3 separate regions of the Homo sapiens genome follow, and all the other regions are linked to region 3. The links are contacts of gene promoters, found by promoter capture Hi-C in blood cells and fetal thymus (Javierre and others, 2016). All regions are on one chromosome and are shown on one strand. Each heading gives the region's core, a stretch centred on a gene start or on the middle of the fragment in contact. The rest is flanking DNA. Distances are from core to core; before and after follow the strand shown. Region 1 overlaps BICRAL (BICRA like chromatin remodeling complex associated protein). Region 2 has its middle 13 kb from the start of TBCC. Region 3 holds the start of RPL7L1 (ribosomal protein L7 like 1).

Evidence for each region. Contacts are between HindIII fragments. The CHiCAGO score rates a contact against its expected background, and 5 or more counts as called.
Region 1: a fragment that was not itself captured here is called in contact with the fragment with the promoter of RPL7L1 in region 3 in 2 of 17 cell types (naive CD4 T cells and megakaryocytes); the score reaches 5.9 in naive CD4 T cells.
Region 2: a contact is called between a fragment that was not itself captured here and the fragment with the promoter of RPL7L1 in region 3, in 1 of 17 cell types (naive CD4 T cells). The highest score is 6.5, in naive CD4 T cells.

What each region holds. Positions count from the first base shown.
Region 1 is chr6:42,789,381-42,793,044 of GRCh38, reverse strand. All of the region lies in intron 1 of BICRAL (BICRA like chromatin remodeling complex associated protein), which reads right to left. LOC401261 (a long non-coding RNA gene) reads right to left here. Exons shown (of 2, transcript NR_134654.1): 2 at 1,722-2,629. Among named protein-coding and RNA genes, the nearest start is that of BICRAL, 9.2 kb to the right of the region's middle. The HindIII fragment of the contact is 2,308 bases long and covers 956-3,263 here.
Region 2 is chr6:42,757,667-42,761,306 of GRCh38, reverse strand. It overlaps a transcript of BICRAL not described here. Among named protein-coding and RNA genes, the nearest start is that of TBCC, 13 kb to the right of the region's middle. The HindIII fragment of the contact is 5,436 bases long and covers 1-3,640 here.
Region 3 is chr6:42,878,147-42,881,955 of GRCh38, reverse strand. It overlaps RPL7L1 (ribosomal protein L7 like 1), which reads right to left and starts at 2,340. Exons shown (of 6, transcript NM_001366481.3): 1 at 2,005-2,340; 2 at 990-1,095. The coding sequence starts at 2,045. RefSeq lists enhancers at 2,079-2,138, 1,414-2,370, 2,159-2,628, 2,371-3,328. The HindIII fragment of the contact is 10,267 bases long and covers 1-3,809 here.

The DNA of each region.
Region 1 (3,664 bases), core at 860-3,359, 89 kb after region 3:
AGGTGGAGTTTGCAGTGAGCTGAGATTGTGCCACTGCACTCCAGCCTGGGCAACAGAGTGAGATTCCATCTCAAAAAATAAATAAAATAAACCAGCCAGCCAATTTCTTTCTCCTTTTTTTCTTTTTCTTTGTGACAGAGTTTCACTCTCGTCGCCCAGTCTGGAGTGCAGTGGCACGATTTTGGCTCACTGCAACCTCCGCCTCCCAGATTCAAACAATTCTTGTGCCTCAGCCTCCAGAATAGCTGGGATTACAGGTACCTGCCACCACACCTGGCTAATTTTTGTATTTTTAGTAGAGATGGGGTTTCTTCATGTTGGCCAGGCTGGTCTCAAATTCCTGACCTCAAGTGATTCACCTACTTCGGCCTCCCAAAGTGCGGGATTACAAGCATAAGCCACCACACTCAGCATCAATTTCTAAATATACTTATTTGCACTTCTAAAAAGTCTCAGGGTTAAATGAAATCTAGGCCAAGCGGAGTGGCTTACACCTGTAATCCCAACACTGTGGGAGGCTGAGGCAGGAGGACTGCTTGAGGCCAGGAGTTTGAGACCAGCTTGGGCAACATAGCAAGAACTCATCTCTACATTTAAAAAAAAAAAAAAATTAGCTGGGCATGGTGGTACATGCATGTAATCCCAGCTACTCAGTAGAGGCTGAGGTGAGAGGGCTGCTTGAACCCACGAGATGGAGGCTGCAGCTATGATCACGCCACTGGACTTCAACCCTGGGTGACCAAGATACTGTCTCAGAAAAAAACCAAAAATGTTCATAAGAAAAAAAGTTACAGTAAGCTAAGCTTATTATTGAGGAAGGAAAAATATTTTATAAGCTTAATGTAGCCTAAGTGTATGGTGTTTATTAAGTTCACAGTAGTGCACAGTGTCCTAGGCCTTCACATTCTTTCACCACTCACTGACTCACCCAGACCAACTTCCAGTCCTCCAAGCTTCATTCATGGTAACTGCCCTATACAGGTGCACCATTTTTTTCTTTTGTATCATATTTTTACTGTACCATGTTTAGATATGTTGATACACAAATACAGTTACAGTTACCTACAGTATCCAGGTACAGTCACATGCTGTACAGGTTTACAATACAGGAGGAATAGGCTATATCATATAGCCTAGGTGTGTGGTAGGTTATACCATATTGGTTTGCGTAAGAGCACTCTATGGTGTTTGTACACAATGAAATCACCTAACGATGCATTCATCAGAACCTATCCCTGTGATTAAATGACACATGACTGTATTTACTAAAAACCCATCAGAGGCCAGGTGCAGTGGTTCACACCTATAGTCCTAGCACTTTGGGAGGCCGAGGTGAGAAGACCGCTTGAGCCCAGGAGTTTGAGACACGCCTGTGCAACATAGTGAGTTCTCATCTCAAAAAACAAAAACAAAAACCAAACCCATTAGAACCCATCAGGGTCTCAAACAAGGTGAAGGTTTAACAAATATTATTTCTTTTCCCCCTCATTTTCTTCCCTGTGAAAATGTTTCCATTTCAGGCCAGGACACAAAGTTCAACTCCTAATGAAAAAAAGTGTCCTGGATTTGGGTTCAACTGAAATAAACCATTTCTAGAAAGGCAATATCTTTCATATCTTATTCTCTCACATTCTCAGACTCAGGGCTTTAATTTTAAGTAATGTTAAGTGTTTAATGTGTTTGCAAGATAAGAGAGCCAAATAACCCACAAAAACAGAACATGTTCGGTTTCACAACTTTATTAAAAATAAATTTATAAGTAAACAAATCGTAACTTTATAGATTAAAGTTGATTGGGATTAAGGAGAACCTGGGTATAAGAGGATCTGGTACAGAGAGGTCTCAGGATCTTTTCCTGAGTGGGAGTACATACGAGGTAGGGAAGAGAAAACAACAAACCAGAACAAAGTTGCTGCTCCCAGGTCCTCTTTCATCCTCCACCTTCCCACACAGCATTCTGACAGCCCCTGAGCTCTCCTCAACTGCACTACAAAAGGGCAGGCCACCCCCAGCACAGTCAAGTCCTGAGCTCCCTCTGCTTGTAGCCAGGCACCATGTTAGTGATTTCCACCTCAGGGCTTTCCTTTTAAAATCCACACCCCACATGCCTTTGCAGTCAGCTCTCTCACCTCTCCATACTCATTTCACTCTTCCCCAACTCCCCCAGCCCACCTTCTGCCAGCTCCTTCACTCACTGTATTTTCCTCTTCTACTATACAGAACATTATTCATCAAGCAAGAGCCATGCCATGCAGAAACGCATCTGGTATGCTACTTAAATCATGCCGTTTCACCCGTTTTTCCCCAGATTTGCTCCTCTCACCTTTAACTCAAAGCTATCTTTCTCAGTGAAGAATGTAGACAGCTATTTTGAATTCCATCATCTACTCCATTCTTATTTTCTCTAATCTCACTTTACGGTTATTGTTTAGCCTATTTGGGGAGCAGAGAAAACTCATGAAAAAGGGAATGACAGCAGACTCAAAGAGGAAAGAAAGGGGAAAAGAAGGTGGGGGGGGGGTGCTACATACTTCCATTTGACATTATTTAAATAAAAAATGATTTTCTCGGCAGGATGCAGTGGCTCACGCCTGTAATCCCAGCACTTTGGGAGGGAAAGGTGGGAAGACTGCTTGAGCCCAGGAGTTTGAGGCCAGCCTGGGTGACAAAGAGAAACCCCTGTCTCTACAAAAAAAAAAAAAAAAAAAAAAAAATTAAATTATCTGGGCATGGTGTTGCATTTCTATAGTCCCAGCTACTTGGGAGGCTGAGGTTGGGGGAATCCCTTGATCCCAGGAGGTCCAGGCTGCAGTGAGCTACAATTGTACCACTGCACTCCAGGCTGGGTAACAGTGAGAACCTGTCTCAAAAACAAACAAAAAATGAAACTCAATGCTTATTTCTCTCCTTCCCTGTTCTGTAATCAGACTTTTTTTCTCATCACGTGCACAGATCAGAATGTCAAATGCTATAAGCCGCCACACATTCAATGGTCTTGATTCTTTTTCTCACAGATCCCTCTACTAGTGTAAGATATTGCTGATCTCTAACAGAATACTGTTTTCCTTTTGATTCCCATCATTCTACTCTACCTAGGTTCTCCAAGTACTGAGTCAGCAAATGTTTACTGAGTGCTCAACTTGTTTTGAATGCTGTGCTAAAGGCTTAGAACAAAACAGTAAACATGGGAGCAAATAATGTAATATTCCCAGGTCCTATACTACAATCTCTACGTCTATAGGTGACTTATGCACCCTCAAGCTTGGTACCATGATAAGAAGAGATACTTTCTCTTTAGTTTCAGTAATCTGAAATTTCATTTCTAAAGCAATTTTCTTCCATATGCAAATAACACCTCTATCTGCCACAAATATTTAAGTGTTCATTCTTTTTTTTTTTTTTTTTGAGACAGTCTAGCTATGTCACCCAGGCTGGAGTGCAGTGGGAAGATCTCAGCTCACTCCAATGTCTGCCTTCCAGGTTCAAGCAATTCTCATGCCTCAGCCTCCTGAGTAGCTGGGATTACAGGTGTGTGCCACCATGCCTGGCTATTTTCTTTGTATTTTTAGTAGAGATGAGTTTTGCCATGTTGGCCAGGCTGGTTTTGAACTCCTGGCCTCAAACGATTTGCCTGCCTCAGCCTCCCAAAGTGCTGGGATTGTAG
Region 2 (3,640 bases), core at 355-2,854, 120 kb after region 3:
TTTTTCTACTTTTAGTAGAGATGGGGGTTTCACCACGTTGGCCAGGCTGGTCTTGAACTCCTGGCCTCAGGTGATCCGCCAGCCTCAGCCTCCCAAACTGCTGGGATTACAGGCGTGAGCCACCGGTGCCCTATCAACTAATCAGAATTTAAACTCAGATCTGTTCACTTATTAGCACCACTACATCTCACTGATAGGAAGAGACGTGAGAGAACAGGTGCAGAAAAGTTTTAAGAGATTTAAGTACCTTTTTTTTTATTTGAGACAGAGTCTCACTCTATCACCCAGGCTGAAATGCAGTGGCGTGATCAGGCTGAAATGCAGTGGCGTGATCTCGGCTGACTGCAACCTCCACCTCCCAGGTTCAAGCAATTCTCGTGCCTCAGCCTCCCAAGTAGCTGGGATTACAGGCGCCAGCCAGCATGCCCAGCTAATTTTAGTACTTTTGGTAGAGATCGGGTTTCGCCATGTTGGCTAGGCTGGTCTCCAACTCCTGGCGTCAAGTGATCCACCTGCCTCTACCTCCCAAATTGCTGGGATTATAGATGGGAGCCCCAAGCCTGGTCTTATGTACCTTTTGACAAGAAAGTAATTTAAAAGCAGTCGGACACAGTGGCTCATGCCTGTAATCCCAGCTCTCTGGGAGGCTGAGATGAGCAGATTGCTTGAGCCCAGGAGTTCGAGACCAGCCTGGGCAACATAGCAAGACCTTGCCTCTAATAATAATAATAATAGTAATAATAATAATAATGTTGAAACCACATTCAAAAGGCAATTTATACAGCTGACAATATATTACTCTCTCTTAGAGTCAACAGCTAAGGCACCTACCTCTTTAACTAGGACTCTTTCCTGATCAGCTAAGCAAATATCCCTTGCCCCTGGACTCCTTTCCCTTACTCTAGAAATGAGAACAAGTCCCCTGACCCACTTTTTTTTTTTTTTTTAGTAGTAGAGATGGGGTTTCTTCATGTTGGTCAGGCTGGTCTCGAACTCCTGACCTCAGGTGATCCGCGTGCCTCGGCCTCCCAATTTTTTTTTGTTTTGAGATGGAGTTTTGCTCTTGTTGCCCAGGCTGGAGTGCAATGGTGCAATCTCAGCTCACCGCAACCTCAGCTCACCGCAACCTCCGCCTCCCAGGTTCAGTGATTCTCCTGCCTCAGCCTCCTGAGTAGCTGGGATTACAGGTGTGCACCATCATGCCTGGCTAATTTTTGCATTTTTAGTACAGACGGGCTTTCACCATGTTAGTCAGGCCGGTCTCGAACTCCTGACCTCAGGTGATCCACCCGCCCCGGCCTCCCAAAGTGCTGGGATTACAGGGTTAAGCCACCACACCTGGCCATAAATCATCTCTTTAACAAGCACTTACTGTGTACCTCCTGTGTCCCAGGTGCTGTGTGAGGGACACAGCATGGAATAAAACACATCCTTGCTTGGAGAAGCTCAAGCTGCAGAAGAGATACCTGTAAACAGATACTGACTTCACACACTCATAATCATCTAACCAGAACCAACAGAGGGCGAAACCCAGATAGGCTTCCCAGAAGAGGAGGAATTTATAAAACAGATCTTGTAGGAGGCAAGTGCCTTGTTATGCAGAGAAGATGAGGCATAGGATCACAGAGGAACCCAGGAGCAAGCAGCATGTGTAAAGGGACCTACCAGCTTGCTCCAAACCTTCTCCTCCAGGTTCACTCTGTCAGGTACCAAGATCACCACAGACCCAGTTCCACAAACTGGAACTTCTACAACTCTTGCTTCCAGTTAATCACTGAGTCCTGTCTAGTCTCCTTCCAAATCTCTCAGACACTCCCCCTTCTTTCCTCTATCTTTACTCCCATCATCGCAGCCCAATGCCATTTCTCTCTGGCTCCTGCAATGGCCTCCAAACTAACATCTGTTTATTTTTGTCCATGTAAATCCACTTCACACAGAGCATCCAGACTGATCCTTTGTTAAAGGGGGAAAAAAGGAAAAATAATGTGATGCTCTCATCATCCTGCTTAAGCCCTTTGGCAGCTCCAGTGCCTTCAAGATTAAGCTGAAACTTCCTAACAGGATTTACAAAGCCCTTGGTGGGCTGGCCCCTGCTCACCTCTCTAACTTCATCTCTGATCTCCACTTCCAGCTTTGAAGTGCTTCAGTTCCTGACACAGTGACTTATAACCCTGGTTGCCCATGAGAACCACCTGGGGAGCTTTAAGAAATACTGATGCCAAGGCCCCACTCCCAGAGATTCAGATTTATTCAAGGGGCATTAGGATGCTGTAAAGCCTCCACGAGATATCAATGAGCAGCTAGGGTTGAGAACATTGCTTTAGCCTGACACGTCTCTGTCTCATGTCCAGGTTTGTTGCACATGACCTGTCTGTTGCTGGAAGCACTGGAGCTCTCCTAGCCTCCTGGCCAGAAGGCAGAGACTTTTTGGTCTCTCTCGTTCACTGCTGTAGTCCCAACACCTAGAAAAGTGCCTAGAACATAGTGGGTACTCCATAAATACCTGCAGAAAGAAAGAATGAATATGTGACTCTGCTTTCACCCTTCACCTGGATAGATGCCACTCAATTCTTTTTTCTTTTTTTTTTTTTTTTGGACCCCCCGACTCCATCATAAGGACCCAGCTTATATTTCCCAAAAGATAGTCCTGATTCTCCTGGTCTGAGATAGGTTACTCTGTATAATTTCAGCACTCCAGATTTCCATTGTAGTGTAAATCGTACCACACTGTAATTATCTGTATCTCTTACTTAGCTTCTGAGCTCTGAGGGAGCCCAGTCTGTGTGTTCACCAATACACCTGCACCATCTGGCAAAGTGCCTTAAAAAGTGCAGCACGAATACATGGAAGTGAACAGACACAGTGTGCTGGGTGACAGCAGACCTTGGTGTGGCTGGAGTAGGGCGCTGGTGGGACATGAGGCTGGTGAGGTACACCGCGGGCCAGATGCAAGAGGCCCAGCATTCACACTAAGGAGTCTGAACTGTATGAGACAATAGAGAGCCAGCAGAGGTTTTAAGTGACACAATCGGCTTGCATTTTAGGGCAATAACTGGCTACGGTATAGAGAACTGGGGGATTCAGGGAAGCCCAAGGGTAACGAGACCAGATGGGAAACTGTAACAATAGCCCAGGGAGAAGAAGATGAGGAAGGAGCCAAACCTGAAGAGAGGGAGCCAGGCCAGAGAGACAGAGAGAGAGATCAGAGAGCATTAACAGTATTTGTCAACTGGGTGGACCAGTGAGAGAGAAGGAGGTGCTGTGGTTGGCTCTGATCCCCCGTTTGGAAGACTATGGATTTGGTGTCATGAGCATGGTCAGATGTAGTCTCATGATTACACAGGCAGTGTCAGAAGCCTGAACTCAGGAGCCAGACTGCCTCCATTCAAATCTTAGCTCTAGTTGCTTCTTGGCCTTTTGGCTAAGACCACGTACAAATCTTAACTCTACGACTTAGCTAGCTCTCAGGCCTGGGGAAGTCAGCTTCACTTCAGTTCTTCATCTGTTAAATGAGAATAATAGTAGTATGTACATCACAGGGATGTTGTGAAGATTCAATGAGGTAAAACATGTAAATAGCCATTTCCTGGCACATAGCAAATGCCACATAAGAGTTAACAGGCTGGGCGCGGTGGCTCAT
Region 3 (3,809 bases), core at 1,091-3,590:
AACCCGGTCTCTACTAAAAATACAAAAATTAGCAGGGCATGGTGGCACATCCTTGTAATCCCAGCTACTTGGGAGGCTGAGGCAGGAGAATCGCTTGAACCCGGGAGGCGGCGGAGGTTGTGGTAAGCCAAGATCGCATCACTGCACTCCAGCCTGGGTGACAGAGTGAGTCTCTGTCTCAAAAAACAAAACAAAATTAAATTAAGTTAAAAAAAAAATTAGCCAGGTGTGGTGGCGCATGCTTGTAATCCTAGCTACTTGGTTGGCTGAGGCACGAGAATTGCTTGAGCCCAGTAGGCAGAGGTTGCAGTGAGTCGAGATTGTGCCACTGCACTCCACTCTAGGCAAGAGTGAGACTCTTGCCTCAAAATAAATAAATAAATAAATAAAGCTATTAAGCAATCCAGAGAGGATTTAAACTACATAGGCGGAAGGAGTATAGATTATATGCAAATACTACAACCAGTTATTTATTTATTTATTTATTTTTTGAGAGAGTGTCTCGCTCTGTCGCCCAGGCTGGAGTACAGTGGCACGAACTTGGCTCACTGCAACCTCCACCTCCCGAGTTCACGCCATTCTCCTGCCTCGGCCTCCCGAGTAGCTGGGACTACAGGAGCCTGCCACCATGCCCGGCTAATTTTTTATATTTTTAGTAGAGACGGGGTTTCACCGTGTTAGCCAGGATGGTCTCGATCTCCTGACCTCGTGATACGCCCGCCTCGGCCTCCCAAAGTGCAGGGATTACAGGCGTGAGCCACCGCGCCCGGCCTACTACAACCATTTTATATAAGGGACTTCAGCAGTCTGAGATTTAGGCATCTGTGGGAGTCCTGGAACCAACCCCTTAAGGACACTGAGAGACAACTATACCTGGTCTGTCAAACCGTTGGGGGGAGCTCGTCAATACCAAATGTAGTCCAACACATGCGGGATAAAACTCACCAAATAAAAATTCTAATTACTTTCTCTTGGTTCCCCACCATTACCTCCTTCTTTGCCAAAAGTGCCTGCTTTGCCTGGGTGGCTTTGAGGGCTTGATAAGCCTTCCTCTTTTTCAGGAGATTTTCTGGAACCAAAGGGATTTTTCTTTGCCTGATGCAGAAAATTGAGATCAGAGATAACATTTAGAAAAGAACACTTGGCCGGGCTCGGTGGCTCAAGCCTGTAATCCCAGCACTCTGGGAGGCCGAGGTGGGTGGATTACCTGAGGTCAGGAGTTCGAGACCAGCCTGACCAACATGGTGAAACCCCCGTTTCTACTAAAAATAAAAAATCAGCTGGGCGTGGTGGCGCACGCCTGTAATCCCAGCTACTCGGGAGACTGAGGCAGGAGAATCGCTTGAACCCGGGAGGCGGAGGTTGCACCGAGCCGAGATCCCGACACTGCGCTCCAGCCTGGGGGACAGAGCAAGACTCCGTCTCAAAACAAAAACAACAACAAAAAAGAAAACGAACATTCAATGGATTTCCAAACCAATTCAATATCCTGGGCTTTAGGGAACATTACTGTTTTCAAGTATCTGAAGAAAGATTCCCCTGAAACCTGCGGTTTCTGACTCCAGGCCTCATAAATCCATCCCTAATAGTCACTCATCCCCAAAGCCTCGGAAAATAATGAATCCTTTAGCCTCTGGGTTCGTATAAGTTAACAGGGTTTTCACGGCCACAGTTCTTCATAGGCACTAGCAGCGACGAATCTATGGGGTTGGGGCGGGGGCAGGCCTATCTGCAGAGTTAACACTTGTCGGGCTGGGTGAATTCAACTGTGGCACTCCAGCCCGCTGCCTGAAGTCAATCCTCGCCTCTCCAGATAACCCGAACTTGACCGCGGTCCCCTCCCTCCTCCGCCACAGCGCTACTCCTCCTCACCCCCACCCTTTGTAAACTGTGGCCTTTTCTATTCCTAGAGCCCACAGGAATCCGCCACCAAGGCATAAACACCGTGGATGGCACCGGATACTCAAGACCCCACTCCAGATATTCAAAGCCCCAAACACTCACTCTTGCTCCGCCATCTTTCTAGTGGTGCAGCTACTGATCATGCGCAACCCCACCACATGGGGAAGACAGCACACGCTCTGTTTACTTGACCATAGAGACGTCTGTTCTAGCTCACGCTGGAGGACCAGTCAGCGTTCACTTAGCCGCAGTGAGCCCTTGAGGTCCCGCTAACCCCGATTCCTGCCAAAAGTTGCACCGCTTCTTAGGGTTTTTAGAGCCTGTGTTATTTTCAAAACCCAGCCCTTTTCTTGTAAGTTACAGTTTCATCACAAGCGGCCTGGCTGTGGACAGCAAAGTGCTTCCCACAATGCACCTATGGCGTCCGCTCCTAGCTACGGCGCCGCACTTCCGGCGCGGCTGTGCTGCGTCTCTGGGGAGGAAGACAGGCAAACTCCGCGAAACATTTTCGCTCTGTGGAAAAACTTGGAGGCTATGGCTTTGGCTCTCACGTGTAGGTGGAAGTGTTTGTTGAGGACTTAGAGTGGTAAAGCAGGTAGCTGCAATTCCGTCTGCTTGGCCCCGTCGATGCGTCCTTGAACACGTTATTTAACCCCTCTATACTGCGGCTTCATTACCCATAAAATGGGTGTACAGTAATAATAGGTCTACCTAATGGCGTTACGAGGATTACAGGAGATTAGATAAAGCGTTTAGCAGTGTCTGTCAGCACTATGTTTGTTACTATTACTGCTGGACCGAAAACTACAACATGCTTCCTTCCCGTCTAAAACCGTTACACAGGCCGGGCGCGGTGGCTCACGCCTGTAATCCCAGCACTTTGGGAGGGAGGCCGAGACGGGAGGATCACCTGAGGTCAGGAGTTCGAGATCAGCCTGGCCAACACGGCGAAACCCCGTCTTGGGCGGAGGTTACAGTGAGCCGAGATCGCGCCACTGCCCACCAGCCTGGGCGACAGAGCAAGACTCCGTCTCAAAAAAACAAAAAGAAAAGAAAAGAAAAAAAAAGAATAAAAATAAAACCCTTATGCAGCTCTCATCGCCCGGAATTTGCGTTCTTCCCTCCCAGTCTATATAGAATCCTGAAAAACAGTAGGTCGGGCCGGTGGCTTTCACCTGTAATCCCAGCACTTTGGGAGGCCAAGGCAGGTGGATCACTTGAGGTCAGGAGTTGGAGACCAGCATGGCTAAGATGGTGAAACCCCGTCTCTACTAAAAATACAAAAAATTAGCTGGGCGTGGTGGCTCGCGCCTGAAGTCCCAGAAGGCGGAGGCTGCGTGAGCCGAGTTTGTGCCACTTGCACTCCAGCCTGGGCGACAGAGCGAGACAGTCTCAAAAAAAACAAGAAATAAATTTTTTTTAAAATTAAAAATCCTGAAAAACAACACAAGTCTTATCATCTCTGGAAACCTCCAGAGCAGCGCTTCTCAAGCATTAATAGTGAATAGGAGTCACCTGAAGATTTTACTAAAATACAGATTTTTATTCAGGAGGCCGGGTGGGGAGCTGATATTCTGCTTTTTTTTTTTTTTTTTTTTTGAGATGGCGTCTCGCTCTGTCGCCCAGGCTGGAGTGCAGTGGCGCGATCTTGGCTCACTGCAAGCTCCGCCTCCCGGGTTCACGCCATTCTCCTGCCTCAGCCTCCCGAGTAGCTGGGACTACAGGCGCCCGCCACCACGCCTGGCTAATTTTTTGAATTTTTAGTAGAGATTTCACCTTGTTAGCCAGGATGGTCTCGATCTCCTGACCTCGTGATCCGCCCGCCTCGGCCTCCCAAAGTGCTGGGATTACAGGCGTGAGCCACCGCACCTGGCCAATATTCTGCATTTTTAACAGGCTTCAGAGTG